Linked DNA regions of Homo sapiens: region 1 is linked to region 2. Evidence: promoter capture Hi-C in human tissues and cell types (Jung and others, 2019). All regions are on one chromosome and are shown on one strand. The core of a region is centred on a gene start or on the middle of the fragment in contact, and the rest is flanking DNA. Distances in the headings are between cores, read along the strand shown. Region 1 overlaps RAB5C (RAB5C, member RAS oncogene family). Region 2 holds the start of FKBP10 (FKBP prolyl isomerase 10).

What was found. The method cuts DNA at HindIII sites, captures the fragments that hold promoters and counts their contacts. A contact is called where the count stands out against the background at its distance.
Region 1: a fragment that was not itself captured here is called in contact with the fragment with the promoter of FKBP10 in region 2 in 1 of the 25 tissues and cell types used here (pancreas).

What each region holds. Positions count from the first base shown.
Region 1 is chr17:42,131,248-42,134,400 of GRCh38, forward strand. The region is part of intron 1 of RAB5C (RAB5C, member RAS oncogene family); the gene reads right to left. Among named protein-coding and RNA genes, the nearest start is that of HSPB9, 10 kb to the left of the region's middle. RefSeq lists enhancers at 2,006-2,055, 2,626-2,675. The HindIII fragment of the contact is 4,681 bases long and covers 1-3,153 here.
Region 2 is chr17:41,811,446-41,814,816 of GRCh38, forward strand. FKBP10 (FKBP prolyl isomerase 10) reads left to right here and starts at 1,559. Exons shown (of 10, transcript NM_021939.4): 1 at 1,559-1,834. The coding sequence starts at 1,590. It overlaps P3H4 (prolyl 3-hydroxylase family member 4 (inactive)), which reads right to left and starts at 504. Exons shown (of 8, transcript NM_006455.3): 1 at 9-504. The coding sequence starts at 470. RefSeq lists a silencer at 134-623 and enhancers at 764-873, 3,360-3,371. The HindIII fragment of the contact is 16,914 bases long and covers 1-3,371 here.

The DNA of each region.
Region 1 (3,153 bases), core at 329-2,828, 320 kb after region 2:
AATCAAAGCAATGTTTCACTCTCTCATCCTGATCCTTCTTCCCTAGTTCTCTCATTTTTGATGGGCCAAAGTCTCGCACCCATTAAAAAACAAAACACACACAGAAACAAACACATAGTAAAACACACACCGATACACACACACAAACACACACAGAAACACACACACCGGAACAAATACACACTGAAACACACACACACACACACAAAAACACATGCCAACACACACACAGAAATACACACCAAAACAGACACCAAAACAAAACACACACCGAAACAAACACACACAGAAACACACACCAAAGTCATAGCTCTGCCACAGTCAGCACAGCTACCAACTTTCCCTTTTTCAATAGAGACCTCAGTTCCATTCTCTACTGGCAGAGATGGGGCGATGGAGAGAAAGAAGAGGCAGGAGGTGTGGGAGGGCAGAGACCAAGTCCTGCATCCCCAACAGCTGGTGTTCCAGTCCCGACATCTGAATCACTTGGTTAGTGACAGCTTCAGAGGCTCAACTTTTTGTTTTTGTTAAGTTTTGGAATTGCAGACACATGAGGAGCCTATCTCTAGAAGCCTCTAGAAGACATAAGTGGATGTCTCATCAGACATATACATCTGATGTCAACAGACATCAGAATATATACAGAATGTTTTACAAACAGGTCCTGTGAGTAGGTATTAAGTACTGAACACTGTTCAGCATTTGAACCTGGGTTGGAAAGAAAAGGTTTTTATTAGGCTGCCCTTTGCATAATGGAGTCTAAGATCCCAGGGAGAGCCCCGATCTGCCCCTGAGCAAGGGAAGTACATTCCCTCATGGTTAAGGGACAGCAATGTGGATGAACAGGAGGTATCTGTGGGAAGCAAATGGTCCACATTCATGCAAGAAGCTGACAGCAAAGGGCTTGTTTTGTTCAACCTCAAATCGTTTTCCACATCCAAGTTCTCCCAGCAACTCATTTAAAAAGTGAGCTTCAGGAAGAATGATTCACTAGCCAGAAACAACAGTTTCCTTTCTGGAGAGAACCAAAGGAAAAGAGGTTTGAAATGGGGCCCACCTCTTCCCCAAAAGTACAAGGAAGGAAGTACGGGGTGGTGGGTCTCAATTAGCAACCAGAAATACCATGTAAATATTTCAAAGTTATGTCATTTCAATTTTTCATAGTTTAAGACGCTTTCTCATTTCACCTCAGTCAATGAAGAGACAAGGTCTGTGCTTTCTGCTTCTTAGAGATGCCTTCCTCACAGTGCCTATGTGCATACTAGGAACTCAAAGAGTGCTGATGGAAGGAAATAATTTTTTTTTTTAAAGAAACAAGGTCTCACTGTGTTGCCCAGGCTAGAGTGCAGCGGTGTGATCACAGCTCACTGCAGCTTCCAAGATCCTACTGCCTCAGCCTCCAGCAGGTATACACCACCACACCCAGCTAATTAAAATTTTCTTTCTTTCTTTCTTTCTTTTTTTTTTGCAGAGATGGAGTCTCACTGTGTTGCCCAGGCTGGTCTCCAACTCCTGGCCTCAAGCAACCCTCCCGCCTCAGCTTCCCAATTGCACAACTATTATCTCCTTCAAGCTTTACGACAACCTCCATTTTTCAGATAGATAATTTAACATTCATATATTAAATGTCCTGCTCATGGTCACCCAGCCTACAGGTGACAGAACCCCCCAGACCCACCATAGACATGATGCCATCCTCCCTGCTGTGGAAGAACAATGGAGGCAGTGCCTGCCCTATGTTTGGTTTAGGGCTGCTAGGTGAATGAAACTCTCTTTTTTTGTGGCAGCAACTTTGCTGGTCCAGGAAGGTCTAGCTCTAGCTGGCTCTAGCAACAGTCACAGTAATCTTGCAGTTTCTGAGTGCCCTCAACAGTGGGAGGAGCCGCCCAGAGCCAGGCAGGGCGACAGCAACAGAGGGAAAACCACAGTGGAATTACAAGTTGGTTATTACCATGAATCCACGTGACACAGAGTCTTGGCTGAGCAATGGTCTGTGGCTGGGGCACTGGAGGAGGAGGTATGAATGGACTGGGAGATGGTAATAGAAAACCAAGTCTCTGATTCCAAAAAAACCAAAGCAGCTGGTGCTTAGGGTACCGAGCTGGGAAGTAACCAGCACCTACAGGTCGAGAAAAATACAGGTAACAGATCTAAGTCTTGTCACTACCAAACCACAGGGTTAGAGGAACAGAATGTGATTTTTAAAAACAAGCCAGAAGGGGAGACAAATAACTCTCCTGCAGTGGTTCTCAACGGTGTCTGTACATTGAAGTCATCTGTGCAGCCAGCCCCTCGAGATTCTCATGAAGGTTTGGCACAGAGCCCAGCATCTGCAGGTGAAGCACACCCACTGAAGCACAGCCAGGGCTAGAGCATCTGGCAGAGAGAGAGTGAGCACAGGCACTGGCTTTCGGCACCACAGATGTGACTGTCTCCTGCCACTTCTGAATCACTTTGTAGAAGCCACCTGAGCTGAGCCTCAGTGTTCTCATCACTAATATGGGGCACACCAGGGTTAATGGCAGTGTTTGCCAGCTGTCTCACACACATCATGTTGAGTAAACAGTAGCTAAGAGTACTGACAGGGTTATTTGTAACACTTTCTCCAAGACTGTTGGTGAACAGACTCTGGCCATCCCAATGAACTGAGACAGGCTCTCCCTGGCATGAACTAGCTGGTGACATGTTCTGCCTGGTCACTGATCCTGCCTTCCAGAGATACCTGAGCAGGCACACCCAGCACTTTTTACGGTCTGTTGCCTAGTGGTTTGCCTGGCCCTGCTTGGTGATCAAATGAGCAGTGGTGTCCAACCTTTGCAGTCAATAAAGCCCAAGGAAGCCAATTTTGCTAGGAAGGGCGCACGGAGATATGAGGGTGTCTAAGCCAGGGGAAGGCCAGACCGAGAGCCCCAGGAAGCATTATACCCTCTCCTCCCAAGCCTGGGAAACTGAAGACATGGCAGGTAGTAAAGGTGAATGCATTCACTGAGCTGTCCTGCCTCCCAGGGATGTGTGTCTTACTGGCAATCTTTCTTTTTGAACCCCTGGCAAAAATTATCCACTTGTGCAGTCAGGTGATGGAATTATAGCCAAAACTGACATAGTTTTCAAAGTCTTCTTTGAGACAAAAATCAAATTCTCCATAAGAGCTAA
Region 2 (3,371 bases), core at 309-2,808:
GCTCCCACCTTGAACAGCGCGTAGTGCAGGTACTGGTAGGGCAGGCGGCTCTGGAAGTCACGCAGCAGCTGCCGCGGCGGGTAGGGCACCTGGAAGGCGGGCAGCGTCCGCTTGCAGCGCCGCAGGCAGGCGGCTCGCTCCAGGACGCGGCCGAAGAGCCGCAGCTCGCAGGCCCACTCGTCTGCGCGGCCGCCGTCGGGATCGGGCTTGGCCGCGGGCGCGGGGCCGCTGCAGTTGGCGTGGCAGAAGGCCTCGCTGTCGCGCAGGAGCCGGTGCAGCCGCAGCGCCGCCTCCAGGTAGCGCGCGCTCTCGCGCCAGCTCTCTCCCTCGTACTGCTCCAGAGCGTGCCCGTACGCCGCGGCCAGCGGCATCAGGTCCTCGGGCGGGAAGCCCCGGAAGCTGTACTTCTCGTACTGCGCCCCGGCGCTGCCCAGCAGCAACCACAGCAGCCCCCACGCCACCCGAGCCATGCCCGCCGCGCCGCCGGCTCTCCGGAGCTGAGCTGGCTGCCCCGCGGACGGAAGGGGACAGGGCCGGGCCCCGGGCGGGCGGCGCGCCCGCTGGGTCTTAGCGCCGGGCACGAGGCGGCAAGGTGGGGCGGGGCCTGGGTCACGACGTCTCCCCTCTTTTCCCAGAGGGTCCGATAGTGTCGTTAAGTCCTCTCCGTCGGCCCGGGCTCCTGCCTTGGGGGTGTCCCCTAGGTAGAGAATGCGTCGGGGAGCGCTTCCCGCCAGAGATGGGAAGCCCAGGAAGCCCCTCCCCATGCAAACAGTGCCCCCGCCTGAGATCAGGACACTGAGTGAGGGCCGCCTCCTCTGCGCTGCCCATACGAGAAGGAAGCCCTGGAGCCGGGCCTTCCGTCGCTGCGCCCTCCTGCACCCTCCGAGTGTCTCCCCCGCCCACGTCGGAGGCACACACCTGCTGTCACCTGCACACCTTGCGCTGCCACCACCCCCCACTCCATCTCCGTGCCCGTCACATCCCAAGTCACAAAGTCCTTCTTTCAGTCCAGCTTTTGCGGGACCAAGCTGCTCTTCCCTGGAGATGCCTTCCCTTGGAGTACAGCTGGGGTCACGGATGAGCACGGAGATGCCTCTCACACTCCGCGGCTTCACCACCCACCTGGAGGGGACTAGAATTCGAAGTGCCCGCGAAAGAAGCAAGGTTCATCTCCGCCCGGCTTTAGGACCCGGGGGCTCCGGAAAAAGTCATTGAACTTTTTTTTTTTTTTTTCCTTTGGTGTCCACTCAGAGTTCTCATCTTTCCCGAGCCTCTCTCCCTGGCCAGGCCCCAGGTCTCGCAGCCAGGGATGGAGATGGGGGGAGGGGGAACCTAGAGTTCTTTGTAGTGCCTCCCTCAGACTCTAACACACTCAGCCTGGCCCCCTCCTCCTATTGCAACCCCCTCCCCCGCTCCTCCCGGCCAGGCCAGCTCAGTCTTCCCAGCCCCCATTCCACGTGGACCAGCCAGGGCGGGGGTAGGGAAAGAGGACAGGAAGAGGGGGAGCCAGTTCTGGGAGGCGGGGGGAAGGAGGTTGGTGGCGACTCCCTCGCTCGCCCTCACTGCCGGCGGTCCCAACTCCAGGCACCATGTTCCCCGCGGGCCCCCCCAGCCACAGCCTCCTCCGGCTCCCCCTGCTGCAGTTGCTGCTACTGGTGGTGCAGGCCGTGGGGAGGGGGCTGGGCCGCGCCAGCCCGGCCGGGGGCCCCCTGGAAGATGTGGTCATCGAGAGGTACCACATCCCCAGGGCCTGTCCCCGGGAAGTGCAGATGGGGGATTTTGTGCGCTACCACTACAACGGCACTTTTGAAGATGGCAAGAAGTTTGATTCAAGGTAACCCCGGTTGGGCGCCCCCGGATTCACCACTCCGTCCCCTGAACCCGGGGTCCTGTTTCCTTGTTGCCTCTTTTAAGCTCTGCATCCCAATACTCTAACCCTAGACAGCACCCCTGGGGCCTCCCAGACACCCATCTCCCCAAAGATACCCTCCTGCCCCCACTTCCAAACCCTCACTTCTCAAAGGATCCCATTTCTTTCTCACAAGCTCTCCACATCCCGGAAAGGACTCGATAATCAAGGTGAACTGCCTTGTGTAGTTACCAGGGCTGTATGTAATGACCTGATGGAGAGGGGTGTTCTGATCTACAGTGTTGGGGGGAAGGGGGTGGTCCCTGCTGCTTAAGAACCCTGGGATGGTCTATCAGCCTGGACCCCGTACCTTTCCACCCACCCTGACTCCCCTTCTGGTTCCACTGTTTTCAGTGCCTTTGTGGTCAGAGAAGAGGGAATAGAACTTTTTTTTGGAGGGGGTGGGAGTTTTCAGCGGCTGGTGGGCAGGGAAAAAGGCTGGTGGGTATTATAAGAAGACAGCCGGCTGGACCTGGGGGTAGCGCGTGGCTCCCTGCGGAGGCCCTGTCTACGTGTCACACAGTCGGACATGCCACCCTGGGCTCCTTGGAGGAATTTCATTCCTCCCTCTCTGGTTCTCCTGGAACCCTCATCTCTCTCCATTTTAGGTACACCAGGCCAGAGGCACAGGCCGCCCATTTTTGCCAGCCTTGGGGTTTGTAAGGTGGCCTCCTGGTCTGACCCAGGCCTTTGGTCTGCCCCAGCAAGTCCACTTTTGTTAGCGGGGACAGGGCAGGGCTGTATGCCAGCCTCAGGGGTAAATCTAGGGTCCCAGTTACACACAGACCCCACAGCACACTGAAAGAAGTCAGTGTTTCTTAGACCCTCCTCTGAAACACACAACTCAGCCCACAGGAAATTAGTGGCCATGACTTTAGAGGCAGGCATATATTGGGGTAAGCCTACAAACTCCAAGAGTCCCAAGACCCTGGTTCAAATCCAGGCTATGACCATGGACAGAGAATTTTGTCTCTTTAGGCATCACTTTCCTTATCTGAAAAGTGGAGACAAAAACAGGACCTACTTGCTAAGGCTGATGTTAGGACTCCAAGGACATGGATGAATGAACGTAGGCTTCTCACAGGGCCTGGCAGTCCTCCAGCCAGTTCAGCACACATTAACATTGACCCTGAGGAAAACCATATGACCTGATGCTGTGGAACTTGTAGAAACTTAATGCAGAGCTTAAGCCTTCATAACAACACTGAGAAGGAAACAGTCCAGACTTAAAACCTGTCTGCTTGGTGGGCAAATTCAGATATAGGGTAGTAGCCAGAAGTGCAGCCCTGAGCCCTTGACTGCTAGGAGTGAGGCAGGGGTTGGGATTTAGGGGATGTCATCCCTGATGGGGACTCTGGGAGCCCAGCTCATGAGTGTTGAGCTTGGAAAACTTTTTGTTTTTTAGCTGGAGGCTCACTCTGTCGCCCAGGCTGGAGTGCAGTGGTGCCATCTCAGCTCACTG